Linked DNA regions of Homo sapiens: region 1 is linked to region 2. Evidence: promoter capture Hi-C in human tissues and cell types (Jung and others, 2019). All regions are on one chromosome and are shown on one strand. The core of a region is centred on a gene start or on the middle of the fragment in contact, and the rest is flanking DNA. Distances in the headings are between cores, read along the strand shown. Region 1 overlaps LOC105377407 (a long non-coding RNA gene). Region 2 holds the start of BBS12 (Bardet-Biedl syndrome 12).

Region 1 (5,479 bases), core at 1,458-3,957, 1.4 Mb after region 2:
TAAATACAGGGAAGAGAAATTGACCCTTTAAGAAGGGGCATTAATCCTTAAGTGGTATCATTGTTTACTGAGGAGACTCAATAAACGTAAGATTATTTTATGCTTTAACCATTTACCACCTTCAGAGGTGCTATAACAAAATCTCCCTTCTCTGTTGGAAAACATTTTGGGACGATTTGATAACTTCTTAGGCAATTTTAGTAATCACAATTTTAGTTAAAAGATACAATGTTTCAGTTATATGGGAGGAATGAGTTCAAGAGATTTGTTGTATAACATGGTGACCACAGATAATGTATTTTGTTGTTGAAAATAACTAAGAATGTAGATTGTAAGTATTGTCACCACAAAAAATGATAAATATATGAGTTAGTGAACATGCTAATTATCTTTAATTGAGCCATTTCACAATGTACACAAATTTTAAAAATCATGTTGTACTTGATAAATATATGCAATTTTTGTCCATTGAAAAATAAATTAAATATAAAGAATAAAAGAGTCTATTCTAATTTATAACTTCAGTATTATATTTGATATTAATATTATATTTGATATATAATTCTCCATTACTGGAAACAAAAAGTTGTAAGTATTCCATAATCTAAAGTTAGTCACTGAGCAACTGACTACATTCTTTCCCTTCCCCTATTGCTGGCCAGCTCTGAAGTGGCCAGCTCTCTCCACCCTGAAATCAGTCCAATCTTTTATTCCCCTTCTCAGAGGTGTAGGGAAGATTACAAGTGATTCTTGTGAAGTACTCTCTCGGCTTGGATTTGCAATCTTCCCCACAGGCTGAATCATTCTTTCAAGGCTTCTTACTGATGATGGTCATATAAATGGAGAAAGGAGAATGGAGGTTGATATGCTGGCTGGTGGCCGTAAAGGAGGAAGTTATTTGTGGCTTTCTGTAGATTGTAGAATAATTAGAAAATGTTGTCTCCAGTTCATGGCCTTAGTTTCCAAATTCAGAGGACTCAGCATCCTATTATATTAGTAAAAGATTCATTCATTCAGAAAACAACGATGGTGGAAATGGCCAACTTGTAAGACATTGAATTCTGACCAACTGCCTTGGAATTTCCTTGGAAGTCTACATTTTTAAAAGAATGAATGGGGAAATGAAAGACTTATTCAAAACAGATTTTCTCAGTTCTTAAAATTTCTAAAAAGAAACCTATTTGTATGGCAGATCCCCACTAATTTTCATGACACATAGTAGTCTAGGTTATGTCCCCATTTTGTAAATGTAATTTGTGCACTATTAGATGTCTCTTTAGCTTTAATTTCTGCATATTTTGAATAATATGCATGCTTGCCCTACTAATATAAATATTACACTGTTTTTAGGATTAAAAAAAAACCAAGATGGATATTTAATTGTTTAATAAACTGCAAAATGCTAACATGGCATAGTGGTGTTTTCTTTTTTGGTTCTATTTATTTCAAAACTTATTTGTGTATAAAAATGACTCTGCAAAGAAGAAGAGTAGGCTTTGGAAATAATTTAAAAAATCACCCCACCTCTATCTTTTTCCTCTCAGAAGAACTGAAAACAGAATCAACGATAACTGATCACTGAGACCCTGAATGGGAGGGGAGCAGAATCCTTTGTCATGCCCTCAAGCAGCCAGATATAAAGAGGGTGGGGGAGAGCCACTAGGCTTCAAGCTGGAACTGAGCTTTCATCAGGTAGATTTTCCAAGGAGGGTAGTGATTCAGAATAACAAGCTTGTATTTGGTCAGTACTGGGTCTGTTCCTCACTCATATATAGTGTGGTCTTGATCAAGTTGCTAATGTGTAAATGTGCATAATAATACCACGGCATTGGGTGGATAAAAAACCATGTAATATATAAGCATGCAACATTACCTCATACTATTACACCTTATTAGCTCTAGTTGTGTGTTAGCATTATTTGAAGGGCTCTCCATGTATGGTATCATTTATATAGTTGTAAGTGCTTTTCATATCTTACTTACATTGTGGGTTTACATGTGCTATATACTTTTTAAGCTTAATGGTAGTTAGCAGTAAGAAAAGCTAGCAAAAGCAAAATTTGTCCAGTTTTTCTTAAAACTTCAGTGCTTTCAACCACAAAGTTGGAAAGCATGGCAACATTGGGGAAGTCGGCAGAGGGCCGGAAGAGCTGTCGACCACGGAATGAGGGTTTTCTCCCGGCTGCATAATTACTGGCATCTGTAAGCACAGCCTTTTGTGTGGGTTCCCTTGGACACAAGCTGCATTACTATTTAAGTGATCCTTTTTCAGTACTATTCTACTGGACACGAAGTGTGTTCATTTCACTCTCAATATCCAGTTTCAAGGCTGAAGAACCGCACACTCATGGCGAGAATGAAAGATCTATTTATTTTCTCTGAACAGATTATATAAGAATGCTTCTTGACAGACTTCTTTTTGATCTTATAATATGATAAAGCTTGAAAAGATATTAGATGTAACTGAACCTATATTTTTCAGTGTTCTGCAGAATCTAAATATATGTTGTAAGAAGATAAAGAGATTTCCTTGGGGGATAAAATTTGGGAAATGTTGGGATTTAGAAATTAAACAAGTTTCTTCACTAAAAACAGTTTAAAAAAACTGTAGTACTCTAATGTGCTCACTAAACCTCCAAGAAAGATATAGAGAATATAGTGTGTGTCTATTTTCCTAGGAACACTTTCATGGAGCTTCTCCTGAGGATACTACTCCATGGAACATACATTAAGAAATAGTGCTCCTTAGTTTAATTAGATCCCATTTGTCAATTTTGGCTTTTGTTGCCATTGCTTTTGGTGTTTTGGACATGAAGTCCTTGCCCACGCCTATGTCCTGAATGGTAATGCCTAGGTTTTCTTCTAGGGTTTTTATGGTTTTAGGTCTAACGTTTAAATCTTTAATCCATCTTGAATTGATTTTTGTATAAGGTGTAAGGAAGGGATCCAGTTTCAGCTTTCTACATATGGCTAGCCAGTTTTCCCAGCACCATTTGTTAAATAGGGAATCCTTTCCCCATTGCTTGTTTTTCTCAGGTTTGTCAAAGATCAGATAGTTGTAGATATGTGGCATTATTTCTGAGGGCTCTGTTCTGTTCCATTGATCTATATCTCTGTTTTGGTACCAGTACCATGCTGTTTTGGTTACTGTAGCCTTGTAGTATAGTTTGAAGTCAGGTAGTGTGATGCCTCCAGCTTTGTTCTTTTGGCTTAGGATTGACTTGGCGATGCGGGCTCTTTTTTGGTTCCATATGAACTTTAAAGTAGTTTTTTCCAATTCTGTGAAGAAAGTCATTGGTAGCTTGATGGGGATGGCATTGAATCTGTAAATTACCTTGGGCAGTATGGCCATTTTCACGATATTGATTCTTCCTACCCATGAGCATGGAATGTTCTTCCATTTGTTTGTGTCCTCTTTTATTTCCTTGAGCAGTGGTTTGTAGTTCTCCTTGAAGAGGTCCTTCACATCCCTTGTAAGTTGGATTCCTAGGTATTTTATTCTCTTTGAAGCAATTGTGAATGGGAGTTCACTCATGATTTGGCCCTCTGTTTGTCTGTTGTTGGTGTATAAGAATGCTTGTGATTTTTGTACATTGATTTTGTATCCTGAGACTTTGCTGAAGTTGCTTATCAGCTTAAGGAGATTTTGGGCTGAGACGATGGGGTTTTCTAGATAAACAATCATGTCGTCTGCAAACAGGGACAATTTGACTTCCTCTTTTCCTAATTGAATACCCTTTATTTCCTTCTCCTACCTAATTGCCCTGGCCAGAACTTCCAACACTATGTTGAATAGGAGCGGTGAGAGAGGGCATCCCTGTCTTGTGCCAGTTTTCAAAGGGAATGCTTCCAGTTTTTGCCCATTCAGTATGATATTGGCTGTGGGTTTGTCATAGATAGCTCTTATTATTTTGAAATACCTAAAGAGCTTCTGCACAGCAAAAGAAACTACCATCAGAGTGAACAGGCAACCTACAACATGGGAGAAAATTTTCGCAACCTACTCATCTGACAAAGGGCTAATATCCAGAATCTACAATGAACTCAAACAAATTTACAAGAAAAAAACAAACAACCCCATCAAAAAGTGGGCGAAGGACATGAACAGACACTTCTCAAAAGAAGACATTTATGCAGCCAAAAAACACATGAAGAAATGCTCATCATCACTGGCCATCAGAGAAATGCAAATCAAAACCACTATGAGATATCATCTCACACCAGTTAGAATGGCAATCATTAAAAAGTCAGGAAACAACAGGTGCTGGAGAGGATGTGGAGAAATAGGAACACTTTTACACTGTTGGTGGGACTGTAAACTAGCTCAACCATTGTGGAAGTCAGTGTGGCGATTCCTCAGGGATCTAGAACTAGAAATACCATTTGACCCAGCCATCCCATTACTGGGTATATACCCAAAGGACTATAAATCATGCTGCTATAAAGACACATGCACACGTATGTTTATTGTGGCACTATTCACAATAGCAAAGACTTGGAACCAACCCAAATGTCCAACAATGATAGACTGGATTAAGAAAATGTGGCACATATACACCATGGAATACTATGCAGCCATAAAAAATGATGAGTTCATGTCCTTTGTAGGGACATGGATGAAATTGGAAACCATCATTCTCAGTAAACTATCGCAAGAACAAAAAACCAAACACCGCATATTCTCACTCATAGGTGGGAATTGAACAATGAGATCACATGGACACAGGAAGGGGAATATCACACTCTGGGGACTGTGGTGGGGTCGGGGGAGGGGGGAGGGTTAGCATTGGGAGATATATCTAATGCTAGATGACACGTTAGTGGGTGCAGCGCACCAGCATGGCACATGTATACATATGTAACTAACCTGCACAATGTGCACATGTACCCTAAAACTTAGAGTATAATAAAAAAAAAAAAACATTAAAAAAAAAAAAAAAAAAAAAAAAGAAATAGTGATCCAAGTCTACCACCCTTATTATTCAGATAAGGAAACTGTGGCCCAGAAAGATGACCCTGGAGTCCTAATGTGAAGTCTGCATGAAAATCGTCCCCCCCAATTTTCCCTTCACCCACACTATATCAAAATAAACCTCAAAGTGTCCTGCTTGAAACATAACTGACAGCTTCAACTTCAGTAGTTGGGCCGTTTCATGTGATGACCTTTTAAACTGATCATAATCTCTTATGCCCCCAATTTTCCTGTGAATTATCTTTTCACAGTTTTGAGAAAATCACATTTCAATGTTTTTGTTTAATGTTTTATCTCCAAACTCAGTATAGATTCTATCTACTCTGTAGCTAGATGTCTTTTATTTATTTCTAAATTCATCCATCTGGCACCCTGCCATAAAATTCATTTGTAAAAGTCCTCTATAAATCTAAGAAATAGAATCTCTCTTTACTGTCATTTGGTTTGGTTTAGTTTAGTCAAATCAAAGATTAATGACTGGGGATGGGGGGAATGGAGTAGATCTCA
Region 2 (5,770 bases), core at 1,717-4,216:
GAGATTGAGACCATCATGGCTAACACAGTGAAACTCCGTCTCTACTAAAAATGCAAAAAATTAGCTAGGCATGGTGGCAGGTACCTGTAGTCCCAGCTACTCGGGAGGCTGAGGCAGGAGAATCTCTTGAGCCCAGGAGGCAGAGGTTGCATTGAGCCGAGATCGCACCACTGCACTCCAGCCTGGGTGACAGAGGGAGATTTTGTCTCAAAAAATATATAAATAAAATTTTTTAAAAATAAAACTCTACACCACCTGTCCTAGCACAGAGGTATTAAGTGCTCACTATAGAGTCAAACTTACAGGGAAATATGGGTGATGTAAGTGCTATTTTGAATTTTCTTTATAACTAAAAGAAGAAAATTAGCAAATAATGTTTCCAGACAGTTCTATTTAATACTTTATGTATTTGAGTAACTGACTAAAAAGCAAATGTTCATCAGGTTTTTTTGGGTTGCACAAAAGGAAAATATAAGTTTTGTTTGCCAAATTCATTTGGATGTGAAGCCAACTTCATCAAACTTTAAAATTCTAAGTCTTTGTGACCTAAGGTTCTCAAAAGAGCAGCTAGAATCAATACTGTTCTTGGATTAATGGCTCAAAGAAGTCATTATGTTTTGTTTCTTGATGCTGTAGATTTAACATCATATTGGTAGAGATGTGTAACTTCTTACATGGATTAGACATCAAGAAGCCAATGTGTACATATAAACTAAAAACTGAAAATGAATACATTCAGATATTAAATTATAAAACTGCATAACAAATACAAATTTGTTAATTTTCCACAAGGACTAAAACAACGCTATTAATAACGAGTAGTCTTTTTCATCACTCTCAAAACATCTTCCTCGTTTATTTCTCCATCTCTATCATGATCAGCTTCATCAAGCATTTCCTGTAAAACAAAATGTAAATATATGAAATACATTTAAAATGACATAAATGAAGTCAAACACATATTCAAAACCAAATTTTATTTTAAATGCATAAGTGCAACTAAAGTTAGAATTATAATCCTAAATTATCACATAAGTTATAATTACATATAAATTATAATTATAAAAATAAGCAAAATCTACCTGAAGTTCATCATGTTAAATTTTCCCCTGGTTTCTTAGCAAACCTCTTGATACCGGTTAGTATTATACTTCCAGTATCATCATCATCAAATAATTTGAAAGTCTTCAATATTTCTTCTTTTTCATCTTTTTTACTCTTTTAAAAAAGAAGCAACTATCCAGTCTTTCATTTATTTATTTTATCAAGCTGGACTTAATTAGATCTTTGGGGTCTAAAGCAGCAATGTGCCAAGTAGCTGTGTTCTGATTTTATTTATTGGTCTTTTAACAATTATGTACTCACACCTGCCCTCAAGGTGCTTAAAGGTAGAGCTTGCTAAGGTGGAGAAGGCACAGGGTGGTCCAGAATGCATCTCTTATTAAACCTCATAATTCAGATCCGTTACCAAAAATGTAAGCTTCAAAATGGAAGGTTGTATCTTTCAATGCTCCTTAGAATAGTGCCTGGCAAAAATAGGCATTCAATATATGTTGCTGAATTAAAGGCTTCCAAATTCTGGCCCCATTCTCTCTATCCTGCAATATAGCCTCATTATTTCCTGACAAAAACCTCTTCTCCACATCATAGTCTTCTCATTACTACCCTGAAAACATATTTAATCTTGCTCTTCCTATCTCCCATCCTTAAAAACCTAGTTCTAATTGCTTCTCTATAAAACTTCTGATTGCTCCAGCCCTAAAATGTAGCAGGTTATTGCTAGTATTTCTTTGAAAAATAAAATCATAACTATATCATTTTTATACTCATAATGGCAAAAAAAAATCTTCAAAACTAATGGTGCCAATTCCTTCTTTATCAACTTCAGCTACCATTTTTTAAATTTCTTCTTTCTTTGGTTCAAATCCTAAGGCCCACACTGCAATCTGAAATAGGAAGAAAAGGAATTATAATATGCCATGATTTCTTTCTAAGCTTTTTAACTCCCTATTAAGAGCTTCTCTCTTTTCTATTATGGACTGAGCATAAACAGAAAATTAGGTCAGCAGGCCTGTGTTTCAGTCCTACTGTGCCATCATGTACATCACTGTTACACCCTGGGCTTTTGCCTACTCATTTATAAAACACAATTAAAATGCTTAACAAGATATCGTTTTGCTAATGCAGGGCAGGCATATGCACTGAAGAGACTTTATATTAAGCTTTCAGAAGACTACTTTTAAAGAAAGCCTTAAAGATTGCCACAAATAATATGGTTTTTAAAATGATTTAGAATTAGAAATAATTTCAGAACCTTCTTTTACATCGATGGTTCCAGACCCATCAATATCAAATAAATTAAAGGCGTCTTTAATTTCTTGCTTTTGGGATTCATTCAGTTCAATTTTTGCTGCTCTTTTCTTCCATTGGTCTGAACTTGTATGGTAGTTAGATGCCTGTAATACACACACATATGGGTGAAAGATAAATTATATAACTGGAATAGTTAGCAGAACCAGAATAATTGATGATAAACTATATTAAAGTACCTATTTCCTACTATAAAATGAATCTCAACAGGAGTAAGGAAGGAGTGCAGTTGCTGCCAGGGGCAGCCTTCCTTGCTCTGGCGGAAAAACTTCGGCCCCGGCCCCAGCAGAAGGTTACAGCTTCACACTCACCAGGTCCCCAGCCGGCAGCCGGCGCTCTCAGCCGGGACCTCCCGGCGTCACCTCCCGCAGCCCCGCCCAACCCAAGTCTTCACAGCTCACTGGCGGTTGCTAAGGCCGCTCTCACCGACCTCTCTCAGCCCCGCCCACCCAGCCTGAGTTATTGACATCCAGTTCATCCAATGGACAGAAAAAAAGGCCTTTAAACCAGCCCTTTCTCTCTACTCCCTACCAATAGCGTGACGTCCCCGCCTTTCGCAGCCCGGCGTTAAGCGGAACTTCTCTCTCCAGCTGTGTCTCTTAGCAACTAAGCCCCCGGCTCCTCCAGAAGCCCCTCTTCGCACATGCGCAAACTGCGGACGGGGAACTGGGCTCCCTAGCCCTGGCGTTTTTGGTGTTGCTGTCCCAGCCAGAATCGCGTCTGGCCGGTGGGAAGCCGGGAACTCCAGCCCCCTGTAGGAGAGGAGAAAGGAGCGAGGTTAGTAGTGAGGTGCTTCCGCTGACTGCTAAGCTAAGTCTTTCCTGAAGACGTGGGAGCCCGTGTGTTTGATTTTTCTGTCCTCTTCGGGCCAGGGAAAGAATGAGAATCTAGGGCCTGGAGGTCCTGGGGTGAATTGGTCCAGCATGTGGCTAGGAGTACTAGAGGAAGAGGGGACTGCCCTTTCTTTTTGCCGCTAGACTTTCCTCATTTTCTACAGTGCCTGGAGCTGGGCCTTCAGCCATTTACCTCCTCCCTGTTTTGGGCAGGGATTCTGGCATGGTAGACACCAGAATTCTGTATAGCAGTGGCATGGGGTAACAGTGTCGTTGGAGGGACGTGGGTATTGGGATAAGCATGGGTCTTGGGATGTATTTAAAGCTTCACTACATACATAGATAAACGTTTTTACATGTTTCGTGTAGCATTTGTTTACGAGGTAGGACTTTGGCCCCACCCATAATTACTATCGGACCCCGCCCTCCAACCCCAACACACACACACACACACACACACACACACACACACACACACACACACATCCAGCCATTTCCTTGGCCCAGTCCTAAGATTTGGCCAGTTGTCAACGATATCAACTTGATCTGCACTTCAGAGTCAGACACAGGTAGTCTGATTATCCAGTTGATTCAGTAACGGCCTAGATTTAGATACTTGTGAAACTTTTGTAAACCAACTCAATCTCTTGTCCAGAGGGCCAGATTTACTGCTTCTGCCCGTTCTGAATTTGGCCAGGAATCAGCTTAAAGGACAGGGGAGAAAGACTGAGGTAGGATGGACCACTGACTTCCTGGTGGGAATGAAGGAATGAGAGAATCTTAAAACTTCTAACCTTTAATTGCTCACACATGCGGACCCCTTTTATGCCTCCTACAATGTCTTCTCTAGAGGAAATATTTTCTAAAAATTATACTGGATTCTTCAAAAATGGATTCAGGAAGAATACTAACTTTAGTCTTTTTTTTTTTTTTTTTTTTTTTGTCTCACTTATCTTCCTGAAGGCAGGAGAGGAAAACAAGTGCAAAGTGCATTCTTGAAGCACTCTGTCAAATCACTTTTCATGCTTCATTGAGTAGAAACATGGCACATTTTCCAAAGCCATCAGCCTGTCTTGTTCATATTATATCCCAGACAGACACGCAAGTATTGTAATCATTGATAAAAATCTCATTAGGCTTCTGGAAAATAGGTAAGTTTATCCTCATATTGCAGGTGATTTTTCCATATAAAGTTACCCAGTGAAAATTAAAATGGCACAAATCCAAGATAATTTTTGAGTTAAGTAAAATGTGGTCACTTTAATATATGATTTTTCACGTCATTTATCTCACTTGGAAAGTTGCTCTTGATCAGTTTCAAGGTCATACACTTTTTTTTTTTTGAGACCGAGTCCTGCTCTGTCGCCCAGGCTGGAGTGCAGTGGCTCAATCCCGGCTCACTGCAAGCTCCACCTCCCGGGTTCTCGCCGTTCTTCTGCCTCAGCCTCCCGAATAGCTGGGAGTACAGGCGCCCGCCACCGCGCCCGGCTAATTTTTTTGTATTTTTAGTAGAGACGGAGTTTCACCGTATTAGCCAGGATGGTCTCCATCTCCTGACTTCATGATCCGCTCGCCTCGGCCTCTCAAAGTGCTGGGATTACAGGCGTGAGCAACTGCGCCCGGCCATATACTTCATTTTTAATACTAATATTAAAAGGATTTCTTAGACCCAGAAATGAATAGTGACCAAGTATATACTCAACCCAATCCTAATTTCGAGGATCTCTTGGATCATGTTTGATCTAATGACAATTAAATGGCGGAGTAGTATATTAACCTATTTTTATATCACTATGATTTAGGCTTTTATATTTGGAATATTTACTGCTAGTTAAAATGTTTTTTTAATTGTAGGCTCAGATTCCAACTCCCAGATCTTGAATAGGATGTAATTAGTTTTGAAAACTAGCTATTAACGAATCTAACTGCACTTTAGAACATTAATCATCATCATTATCCAGGAAAACATTAAACACATAGGCACTCTTAAATCTCCCAAATGTATTTAATGTTTTCTATATGTCATGCACTATGCCAACTACTGGGTGAGTTCGAAAGAAATAAAAATAGAATATAAAAGATGAATAACTAAGGAATCTACAGATTAGTGGGGGAGCTAGACACAAACATAATACAATGTTTTTAATACAGGGTATTTTTAATCTGCTTTGGTAGATGGGTATAGAAAGTGCGTTGGGAGCACAGAAAGGAGGGACAACTCTACCCCAGGGCATTAGAGAAGTCCTGATAGGAAATGAGGCATTTGCGTTGGGTCATGAAAGATCTATAGCATCTATGGAGATGAAGAAAATATAGACTATTCAAATCAGTATAGCTTAGTGAAAATAAATATGTTCTAGCGTGACAAGATCATGAGGTTTATAAGGAAAGGTGGGAGAAGAGTCATAAATTAGGTTGAGGTTAGATTATAAGGCACATATATCAAGCCAAGGAGTAAAGACTTTCTTTTTTAAGATAAATAGATGTTTTTTGGCAGTGGAGTAATCTGTTTAGGTTTGTGCTTTTTCAGTGCTAATTCTGACCACCATATGAAGGAGGAACTCTCA

The links. The method cuts DNA at HindIII sites, captures the fragments that hold promoters and counts their contacts. A contact is called where the count stands out against the background at its distance.
Region 1: a contact is called between a fragment that was not itself captured here and the fragment with the promoter of BBS12 in region 2, in 1 of the 25 tissues and cell types used here (dorsolateral prefrontal cortex).

What each region holds. Positions count from the first base shown.
Region 1 is chr4:124,150,167-124,155,645 of GRCh38, forward strand. The region is part of intron 2 of LOC105377407 (a long non-coding RNA gene); the gene reads right to left. Among named protein-coding and RNA genes, the nearest start is that of LINC02516, 410 kb to the right of the region's middle. The HindIII fragment of the contact is 6,713 bases long and covers 1-5,479 here.
Region 2 is chr4:122,729,738-122,735,507 of GRCh38, forward strand. It overlaps BBS12 (Bardet-Biedl syndrome 12), which reads left to right and starts at 2,967. Exons shown (of 2, transcript NM_152618.3): 1 at 2,967-3,147. It also overlaps the pseudogene CETN4P. RefSeq lists a silencer at 2,637-2,856 and an enhancer at 3,217-3,426. The HindIII fragment of the contact is 3,301 bases long and covers 1,738-5,038 here.